Linked DNA regions of Homo sapiens: region 1 is linked to region 2. The links are contacts of gene promoters, found by promoter capture Hi-C in blood cells and fetal thymus (Javierre and others, 2016). All regions are on one chromosome and are shown on one strand. The core of a region is centred on a gene start or on the middle of the fragment in contact, and the rest is flanking DNA. Distances in the headings are between cores, read along the strand shown.

Region 1 (5,709 bases), core at 143-2,642, 2.1 Mb after region 2:
TAGATCACGACATCAGGAGTTCAAGACTAGCCTAGCCAACATGGTGAAACCCCATCTCTACTAAAAATACAAAGATTAGCTGGGCATGGTGGCATGTGCCTGTAATCCCAGCTACTGGGGAGGCTGAGGCAGGAGAACTGCTTGAACCTGGACCTGGGAGGCGGAAGTTGCAGTGAACCAAGAGCTCCACTGCACTCCAGCCTGGGCTACAGAGTGAGACTCCATCTCAAAAGAAAACAAAAGTTTATTTCTCGTTTTTACAAGGAACCAATGTGGGTATTGAGGCAGCTTTCCACATGGTGTGACTGAAGGACCCAGGTGTCTTCCAGCTTGTGACTGCCGCCCCAGGGTTGACAAGACCTCACTTGAAGTTGGCAGTCTGGGGTTGAGGAAAAGAGTGGAGAAGGCCCACCTGCTTAATTAGCTTCGCCCAGAGTATCACACCACCAACTCGCATTCCAAGGGTGAAAACGAATTGCACGTCCCTGTGCAGATAAGCAAGGGGCATCTGGGAAGTACAATCTTTAGTTGGGTAATCACTTCTCAGGAACAACTATGTGGTGGATGGGAAGCATAAATCTTTCTCACATAGTCATTCTATCACTTTCTGCTTATGCTCACCAGCTTAAGCTGACCAGCCCCTGTTGTATCCCAGCAGGGAATACCAGTTTATTATAGTCAACATTTATTTATCTTTTTGTGTCTTGTCTGTAGTGCATTAAGGATTTTCTGAAGGTGAGCATATTAGATGTTAAGGGTTAGATTTTAAAGCACTTATCAGGCATGAGTTACCTGATCTAATCTCTAGCCTAATCATCCAGTACTTAATTTTTTTTTCCTGGAACATTATTTCCTTACTTTGCAGCAGCATTTATAGCTCTTGCTGCCCTTGGGAATATATATATACACACACACACACACACACACACACACACACACATATATACATATATATATGTTTCATGTTTGTCAGTTTCATGAGCAAGAAGGCTATGTTTATCTTGTTCATTTTACTATAAGACACTACATATTTACTGAGTAAATTGAATTAAAAGCAAAAAATGTGTGATTAATTTTAGTTATATTGGCTTACACAGGTGTTTTGTCTCATGTAAGGTAGGCATTTCAGGACATTCCATGACAGATTTTCAGAGGATAAATGAACTGGGTTTTTACTGTAAAATGTAATCTATCTCCTAGTAGTATCTCAGTGATAAATGTTTAACATTAATGGTAAAGGGAGGTATATGGAGTAACTTATATTTGAAAAGTATTAGGCTAAGGACATTCATAAGTCCTTGTGAATTAATGTCTTTCACCTTTTTTTTTACATTTGTAATGGAAAAAAGGAAATGTGGAAAAGTTTATGAGATATTTGTATATAGTTTACTGAATAATATAAAGCATGTGCCTTTGTAACTACTACTCAGATCAGCAGTTGGAACAATACTATTACTCCATGCCTCCCTCCCTATACTTCTTCTGGATCACAACCTGTTACCTTTCTGCGGTCTTCAGTTTTGTGTTAGCCATTTTCTTGCCTTGCTTGAAAAGTTTACTACCTCTGTTGCATCCTATCAGCTTTACTGCCATCATGGACAATAGGAACATCTCAGTGGCTTACAAAAACAAATGTGTATTTCTTGCATCAATAGGGGCTTAGGATATACTCCTCACATCTCTTCATTCCAGATTCCACATTGAGAGAAAAGTTCCTTTTGGGATTCCAAAGGGCAGTTAGAACTGTTGGAAACTCTTGGAGCCTCTGATTGAAGGTGATGAGCATCAGTCTACTCCTTTAATTGACTCAAGTATGTCACATGGCAAAGCCAAGGAGTTGAAGGGTTGGGGAGCTAGATTCCATAGGGAAAGAGCACAAGTCACATGGCACTGAGTAATACTCTTACAGGAAAGGAGGAGGGAATTCTTAGAAATGTAATATAAGCTATCACACATTCCTAAGCGATACAGTTTGGTTTGGTTTGGTTATGAACATAAATGTAATCTTACCATAAGAATTTTTGGTCTTGCTGCTTTGGCTTAGCATTAACTTTAAGAGAATCATTTATGTTTTTGTGTGAAGGTGTAGTTCATTTTCATTGTTAGGCAGTAATTCATTGTAATATAGTCATCCATAGTAGGCATCCGGAGTAGGCATAATTTATTTACCTGTTCTGTTGACAGACATGTGCTCTGAATGTTCTTGTACAGGTAGCCTGGTGTATGTGTTTCTCTAGGAAAGGGATCTTCACATTTTGTTGCTTGTGTAGCACATCAAAGATTTTTTTTAAACTTTCTTAAATACTGAAAAATTTTCATCTTGTCATAGAATGTAATTTTTGGCACATTGCAAGTATTAACATTTTAAAGTACCAACTGCACATTACTTTTTTTTGCATTACTTTAAAAATGTATCTAAATGTATCCAGTGGAATATGGTATTTATATGATTTGATAGAATCATTCATTTTCTAATGAACAAATTCTTCCTTAGTGGTCAAAGTTCTTATCATTTCTTTTTCAAATTATATTTACATGCCTCTAGCAAAATTTTGTCCTAATGGGTAATACTCTAGAGAGTGCTATTTTCAAGTCTTTTATTAATAACTGTACCACATTTCTTTGTAACAAAAATGTGCATGTAAATTGAAATTTATCTTTTACAATTTCCTCTGACCCCAATATTCTAAGTTCTAAGGGTGTAAAAGTTATTCTGGAGTAAGTTAATTCTGCAGTTATCAATAGTACACAGTTGATCAAAACAAGAAGTATATTAGAAATGTGATAGATAATCGTAACTCTTGATGAGATGGAATTAGATATGGGAGGGGATAATTTATGTTGCTTTCATTAAGGGAATTATTAAATTATTTCTTTGTCCCCAAGGTTTGATGCCTTGTGGCAGTGCACCATAGCAAGATTCTGGATGAGGTGAGGCTTTCTTTGTGAAAGGGATGATGGAGGGAAAGAACCTCAAGCCTGGGCGCATTACCAGCCAGATCACTTTAGAAGTACGTGTGAGAGCAGAGCTGATTTCCATACAGCTGTCTGTCACCATGCACAAAGTTCCATGTTCCTCCTAATCGAAGACCACTGCTCTAGCATACACACCTAAGATTGGAAATTCCTAAGTCTTATGGAATTCATATCAACATCTTTACTATATATTACCAAACTTTCCCAAAGTGGTTTTTCCAAGTGTGAGTTCTCTTTGCCTAAATTTGGGTTTGCAGACTTTAGTTTTTGCCAAGCTGGTGAATAACCAATGGTATCTTATTTTGGTTGTAAATTATATTTCTCTGTTTGCTAAAATGAGAAACTTCTATTCATGTTTATTGTTCATTTGGATTTCTTTTGTAAGGTGCCTGTTCAAATTTTGCCCATTTTCTATTTGTCTTATTGATTTGTAGGATTTCTTTGTATACTCTCAGTTTGAGTCTTCTAGCTTACCCCTTCACTTTTTCATGGTTCCTTTTGATCAATCAAGCTTCTTAATATAATCAAATGTATCAGGCTTTTCTTTCATTCAATAATGCTCTTTTAACCTTTCTCCCAGCTTCTTCAGTGTTATGAAATAGAAAGTGTCTTAGTTTTGAAGTCAGCAATATCTGGGTTTGGATTCTGGTATAGCCACTTTCTAGCAATGTGAAATTGGCTAAGCAATGCTCACTAGAGTAAGTTGTCTAAGCCTTATGTTTGATATTCATTGTTTGTGCCTGGCATTATTATGTGTGCTTTGCATATATTAAACTGAATGCTAACAACAACCCTACGAGGTAGGTACTATTATCATTCCCATTTTAAAGAAAAAGAAGCTGAGATCAAGATAGGTGAGTAACTTGCTCCAGGTCAGTATGGTAGGTAGTGGTAAAGCCAATATTCAAAGCCTGGCACCTGCACTAGAGCCTGAACTCTCCTCCATACAGACTGTGCTTCTTCCTCAGAAACATGGGAATGAGAATACCTTTCTTTTAGAATTGCTGTGAGCAAAAAAATATGTATGGGAAAGGACTTCCCAGCATTTTTAGTACATAGCAGGTTTTTGTTATTTCTGTGAAATGTAGCAGAGTTGAGGAAACAGAACCGAACGGAACACAAACATTAAAGTCTCTTTGCAAAGTCATATGTATTTTTTTTTTTTACAGATAATTGTAGAGCAAATTGAATAATTCTTTTACCTTGTTCAGAACAATGAGTCTTTCTTCAGTATCTTTGGTGTAGGAGACAGATGTTCTCTGAACAACAGACTTAGTATTTTTCTGGTAAGAATAGAAAAAAATCAATTTCTTAGCTCAATCATATAGATTAATTTCTTAATGATCTTGAAGCGTATAGGAAAATATACCCTCATTTTAACCATGTGGCCTAAAAAGGGCCAGAGAAAACAAATAATAAAGCTTTGAATGGAAGTTGGCGTGAAAGACAAAATGCACCAGGCAATAAAGATAATTTTGCTTTAGATATTATAATAGGGAGAATTTTCATTTCTGCAGCAGAATGTGTCAAAGAAATGAAGGAGGCTTGGGGTTTTATAGAGGCAGGTAAACAAGGGAGTCAAGGGGAAGGATGGGGGGGGTCAGTTCTTGGATATGCCAAGGGAGGTGGTTCCTTGAAGTTAACTGTTTCTCACAACATAAAAGGTTTTTTTTTAAAACCATTGCTTTTTCCTGGGAGCACAGGGCTCTGGAAATTTTCAACAATGTCACTGCCTTTAGGAAAGCTAAGAAAAATACGGAATCCTCTACTGTGACAGCAAGGATATGGGTCAGTATCCAGGCAGTGACAATGGTCAAAGCAAATGTGTAACAAACCTAATCAGGAGCCTAATCCCCTAAAGAGATGAGGAACCCAAAATCCAAAATGATTTATAACTTTAACTTAAAGACGGATAGTTCACTGGCCACCGACCAGCTCTTTGCACTTGATTGTAAATCAAGAAATTCAATTAAATATTTGCTCAGCATCTTTTTTTTTTCTAGCAAGTTCTTTATTTTAATTTTAACTTGAAATCAGTGCATTATATTAATAACTCCATTGGTCGTTTGTCTACTTAACAATCTTTGATGATCTTTCCCATAGTGAAATGATCCTATAAAACCATTGACAGGTTCTAAGATTTTTCCTTTGTCTACCCATCCCTACTAACTAGAAATACATTTCTGGGAAGTAGTCTAACAATAATTTCAGTTTTGAAAAGGGTCATGGATGGTAAGGAGACTATATTGTTTAAAGGCCTTTATTGATCCTTTTATAGATTTACTGGAAGTTGAAAACTAGCACAAAGAGGTCCCCTGTACTCCTTCACCTAGTTCTCCCTCATGGTGACATCTTACTAACTATAGTTCAGTATCAAAACATAGAAATTGATGTTGGTACAGTTAATAGACTATTCAGATTTCATCCATTTTACATTGTTCATTTGTGTGTGTTAGTATCTTTAATGCGCCAGACATTGCTTATACTCTGGAATGGAATGTGGTGATACAGACAGTTCTTCAAAACACTTTACACTTTCTTGGGAGGTGTTTGGTTTTGTTTTGTTTTGTAATGTGGCCTCAATTCTCAAACCTGCCTTTAAGATTTCTCCACTTGTCTTAGAGAGTCAAGAATTAAAGTATTCCAACTGCAGTGAATATTAATTAAAGAATAAATATATTAAAGTGGGTTGGAGGCAGGGGAATAACATGTCACTTGTCACATTGAGCCAGC
Region 2 (5,845 bases), core at 3,196-5,695:
TTACAATAAACAATCTGAAAAGGAAATTAAGAAAATAATACCAACTACAACAGCATCAAAAAGAATAAAATACTTAGGAATTAACCAAGTAGGTAAAAGGCTTCTGGAATGAAAGCTACAAAACACTACTGAAAGAAGTGAAAGACAAATAAATGGAAGTACATCCTGTGGTTACAGATTGGAAGACTTATTAAGATGGCAATACCACCCAAAGTGATCTATAGATTCAATGTAGCTCCTGCCAAAATTATAATGACGTTTTTTGCATTAATAGAAAAAAATTCTAAAATCCACATGGAATCTCAAGGGACCTCTAATAGTCAAACCAAACTTGAAAAAGAACAACAAAGCTGGAAGACACTTTCTGATTTCAAAACTTATTACAAAGCTACAGTAACCAAAACAGTATGGTATTGGCATAAAAAGAGACATACAGACCAATGAAATAGAACAGAGAATCCAGAAATAAACCATCACATATATGGTCAAAAGATTTTTGACTAGGTGTCAAGATCATTTAATGGGGGAAAGGACAGTCTTTTCAACAAATGGTGCTGAGAAATCATATCCACATTCAAAAGAATGAGGTTGGAACCTTACCCAACATTATCTATGAAAATTAACTCAAAATGGATCAAAGACTTAAATCTAAGACATAAAACTGTAATACTCTTAGACGAAAAAACAGGGCAACAGGGCAAAAGGCTTACAGCACTGAATTTGGCAATGATTTCCAAATGCACAAGCAACAAAAGAGGAAACAGACCAACTGAACATTATGAAAATTAAAAAAAAATTGTGCATCAAAAGACAGTATCAACAGAGTAAAAAGGCAACCCACCGAATGAGAGAAAATATTTGAAAATCATGTATCTGATAAAATCTAATATCTATAATTTACAGATAACTCCTTTAACTCAACAATAACAAAAACATGATTCAAAAATGGGTAAAGGACTTGAAAAGACATTTTTCCAGAGAAAATACACTAACGTCCAATAAGCACAGGAAAATACAGTCAACATCACTAATCATTAGGGAAATACAAATCAAAAGTACAATGAGGGACCACCTTATACCCATTAAGATAGTTACTATCGAAAAAAAAATAAGTCTTGGCAAGGATGTGGAGAAACTGGAACCCTTATGTATTGTTAATGTGAATGTAATACGTATGGTACAGCCTCTGCGGAAACAATATGGAGCTTCCTAAAAAAAAATTAAAAACAGAATTACCATGTGATCTAGCAATTCCACTTTCAGGTATATACCCTCAAGAATTCAAAGCAGGGTCTGGAAAAGATATTTGTTCACCCATGTTCATAGCAGCATTATTCACAACAGCTAAAACATGGAAGCAACCCAGGTGTCCAATAACAGATGAATGGATAAGCAAAATGTGGCTGACACATATAAGGGAATGTTATGTGACCTTAAAAAGAAGAGAAATTCTGGCATATGCTACAACAAAGATGAACCTTGAGGACATTATGCCAAGTTAAATAAGCCAGTCAAAAAAAGTCAAATACTGGATAAGCCCATTTATATGAGGTTTTGGTTCTTTACCACTTTCCAGTAATATGAATACAAACACTTCCGGTTTCCAAAACTGGAAACAAAAGGTAGAATGGTGATTGCTAGGACCTAGGAATGGGGAAGGGGAATTATTGTTTAATAGGTATAGAGTTTCAGTTTTACAAGATAAAAAGAGTAATGAAGATAGATGGTGTTGATGGTGGCACAACATTATCAATGTAATTAATACCATTGAACTGTACACTTAGAATGGTTAAGATGGTAAATTTTATGTTACGTATATTTTACTACAATTTAAAAATTGGAAGAAACAATTCTGTGATCCCATAAAAATAAAATGAGGGAAAAAACTCTGAAAAACAAATTAATAAATAAAAGAAGAGATGATGGCGTGCGTGTGTGTGTATTTAACATCTGTCCTTTCCATCTCTTTTTTCCCTATATTCATGACTTCCACAAATCACTACTCCATATAGAGTCTCTCCAAGCTTGGCTTACTTGCTAAAATCTGGTTCCTTCATTCAAATAGCTTATGAATCCTATGCAATCTATTCTTGAAAAATACACGAACTGCTGACTAAATGGTTAAACTCCCTAAAGCTGTTGCCTAAACTCCAAACCACAAATATTTTTATCTTATATTGCTATAAAGTACTTGCACCAGCACAGTGGCTCACACCTATGATTCCTGAACCTTGGGAGGCTGTGGAAGGAGGATCGCTTGAGCTCAGGACTTCAAGACCAGCCTGGGCAGCACAGTCAGACAAAAAAATTAAAAGAAATAACCACACGTGATGGCGTGTGCCTGTGGTCCCAGGTACTCTGAAGGCTGAGGTGGGAGGGAGAATTGCTTGAACCTAGGAGGTCAAGGCTACAGTGAGTCTTGTTCGCACCACTGCACTCCAGCCTGGGCAACAGAATAAAAATCTGTCTCAAAAAAATACTTGCCCCAAATATGATATAAATTTATTCAAGTCAGCCAAAAATGTTTTAGTTTATTAGAGAGCTAAGTCAAGAAATTTGTCAGAAAAACAAAACAATGAGAGCAAAACGAAAAAGAAATAGTGAACATAAATTTCCAGAAATAGATGTATTTCATTTAAATTGTTTAAAAAATTATTTAAGTAAAATAATTCAAGAAAAAGAAACAGAAATTAAATGCATAATTCTTAGACTTTAGTATTAATGATTTTGATGCATTATCATGGGTCAGTCAATGGAATAGTGCCAGTTTCCAAATCTGAATCAAAATGAGGAAAAAATTAGTTGTACATTAGCAGTTGGTTAAATAATAAACCATAAAGTTACAAATCTGAATGACTAATTTCAACACACTGTGATTAAAGATTTGGTAATTCAATGTTTTTATATTGTAAAATGAGGAAGATATCTTTTAACCTAGCAACAGTAAACACACAAAACATTCCCCATTAAAGTGACCATATGTAATAAATTATGATCAATGTTTTGGCTTATCTAGAAGTTACTATAATATTTTGTGGATGGAAGTAATTGATCCAAGGGCCCCAAGTAATATTAGTTAATTTGCTGTAACTTATTATTAAATGAAGTTACGCTGCACCCTAATTCCTGATGTACAGAAACTGATAATATTTGTTGTTTTAAGCTGGGGTAAATTTGGGGGTAATTTGTTACCCAGCAATAGACAACTAATGAAGTACCTCATCAGACATATTGTCAGGTTAATTGGCTAAAGATGAATTTCTGACCCAATATGAAAAAAATAATAAAACTTATGCATTCTTTATTCTGAAACCTACTCTGTTTCACATATCATTTTCGTGAAGGGTAGAGTTGAGAAGTGTGTAGAGCTCCTACCTCAGAAATACATTACTTCAAACATTAAAAGAAGGAAGAGGAAAGCTGAAATAGAAAACATAAATTGTCTTCACTTTACCGTAATAAAAATCATGATATATTCATTTGTGGATATACACCTAGGAGCCTTGAAAATGAATATTTTACTTGTAAAACAAGTAGAATCAATTATTTTATTAGTAAATTCATACAGAACCTAAAAATAAAACTAAAAAAATTAAATGACTGAGGATTGGGATCCATTTATGTGATTTTGCCAAATAAATATTGAGAACCTTCTACGTAAGAGATTAGAACCCAGTCGCTGAGAAACAAATAAAAGACAAGTTTGACAAGTTTTATAACCCAAGTTTGACTACTGTAGCAGCTAGCAATCCATCGTGATCTTAACTATACTTGTGTTTGCATTCATATTACTGGAAAGTGGTAAAGAACCAAAAACTGTCTAGGAACCAAAATAACACTCGACCCGAAAACCAACACTTGGACCTGAAGAAAGTAACCCTTGTCATTTCTCAGGTTTATTTCACAATGACGCTGGGTTACTACTTGGAGTCCTAAACCGAACTACACCCCAATGGCCTAGAAACAGAAGGAACACACCCAGTTCCGCCTCCTGACAGTGATTCCTCACTTTAATGAGCCACCACTACTGTCACTCAAGATGCTTCGCACTGTCATTGGTCGCAAACTCTTGCTGGTCGGCCAGTTTCGGCCAACTGGCAAGCACTGGTTGTCTTTATTTTCGAGAAAAGTGAAGGTGAACAGGGAAAAGAGACAAGAGATCTAAAATATCTAGGTTGACTCCTGTACCTGAGCGACCTGCGATCTCCACCGCCGCCGCGACGAATTGGCCTCTGGGCGGGGACTTTTAGCCAAAAGGAAAATGGCTCAGCCGGGAACTGGTGCCCAGGCCATGGAGAAGCTGATTCAAACTTTACTTGTCCACACCGGTAGAGGTGACCGCGATGAGAATACCAGAAACAGCACTACGACCCTCAGAACTCAGGGTACCTCCAGCTGCAGGGGCCAGAACTGCCGACTATCCCAATTTTGACGTTTCCTATTGTTGCCGGAAGTGACGTTAGGCTCCGACTCTTAACGGAGACGCATTTTTATTTCTGTTGTTTACGATTCGCTATAGATTCCTTGTTTCTCACTTCGTAGCACGAGCCACTCTGACCATCAAGATCAGAAAAACTTCTCAGCTGCAAGTTAGAAGTGGACTGGCCATTGAGGAGGCTCTCAGCGGAGTCGCTCTTCACAGGAGTCTTGAACGCGGTGTGGAATCGGCAGCGAGGAATCCTGGAGCACAGAGAAGCTCCCAGCTTTGAAGGTCTTGCGGTGGTGCGTGGCGGGCAGGAACCCACAATTCCAAATACAAACGGTCGGCGCGAGAAGCGCTTCTGGGCGCAGGCGCCTGGCTGTAGCGACTGGTTGCGGGAGGCTGGACTCTGGTGACTGTGTATGGTTGCATATGCTCCGTTTTCCTCTCCCTGTCGTGCTGGGCCTTTGAAACCGGCTTCTTTGCTGGTGGCTGCTTGGTGAGCCCCGAGGAGACGGCAAGGCTGCGCCTGGTATTGGGCGGAGGTCGCCTCTCTCCGCCGTCCTTACAGAGACCCCGGGCGGAGACGAATGACCAGATCCGCCTTTTCATTCTTTTAAATCAAATGGCGGGAGGGGAGCCTTGCTTATATACCCAACTAGTATATGCTTTTAGTCACAACGAAGTGGGAAGTATCGTGGTAGCTCATCCTATCAGAATTAGGTTGTGACTTAGGGTTGGAAAGTTATAGGCTTACTGATTCCTATTGGATCCTCTGGGGTGAGGATACAAACGGCTCCTGACTATAAGGAAGACAGGACAGCAGTTCGTGTTTTCCTTGTTGGCATTTCCCCAGCTTTTCAAATATTTCTCCACCTTTATTGAAGGCTACAGATTTTTCCCTCACTGTAACAAGTTAATCTTGAAGTTGTTATTCTCTTTTACTCTGGAATTATGGCCATGCTAGACTGTTTTTTTCCCGAATTATCTGCAGACCTTTTAATTTTATGTGTGAACACAGCAGTCCCGTTGAACTCTTTACTTGTCCCTTACTCCTCCCCACTCCCGCCCAGCTTTCTCGATGCTTTGCCTTTCTCAGACCTTTCTCCTATCTCTTAGAGAAGTATTTCCCTAATATCTTTTGCAGTTTCATAAACTGTTTTTCTCATCTTTACTTTTTTGTTTTTGATACGTGTTTTTAGATAATATCGAGCATTATGTGCTATGTCACAAACTCTTAGCCATTGACTGTTATTAGAGTCAGTGTAGTTGCTTCATTCTAAACAAAAATCACTCTGGTCCAGTGACATTCTATTGGGAGGCATTGTTTTAATGACCTCTAACAGCAATGAGATTGAGCGATGTTGAAAATCCTAAACTGCTAGAGTACACTATTTTCACAACCTCTCCCACAAGTTCAATTGC

What was found. Contacts are between HindIII fragments. The CHiCAGO score rates a contact against its expected background, and 5 or more counts as called.
Region 1: a fragment that was not itself captured here is called in contact with the fragment with the promoter of FBXO8 in region 2 in 9 of 17 cell types (non-activated CD4 T cells, total CD8 T cells, naive CD8 T cells and 6 more); the score reaches 17.6 in non-activated CD4 T cells.

The regions. Positions count from the first base shown.
Region 1 is chr4:176,333,736-176,339,444 of GRCh38, forward strand. No RefSeq gene overlaps it. Among named protein-coding and RNA genes, the nearest start is that of SPCS3-AS1, 16 kb to the left of the region's middle. The HindIII fragment of the contact is 4,185 bases long and covers 1-3,485 here.
Region 2 is chr4:174,279,222-174,285,066 of GRCh38, forward strand. It overlaps FBXO8 (F-box protein 8), which reads right to left and starts at 4,446. Exons shown (of 6, transcript NM_012180.3): 1 at 4,189-4,446. CEP44 (centrosomal protein 44) reads left to right here and starts at 4,690. Exons shown (of 12, transcript NM_001040157.3): 1 at 4,690-4,722. RefSeq lists an enhancer at 4,641-4,890 and a silencer at 4,655-4,922. The HindIII fragment of the contact is 4,999 bases long and covers 2,023-5,845 here.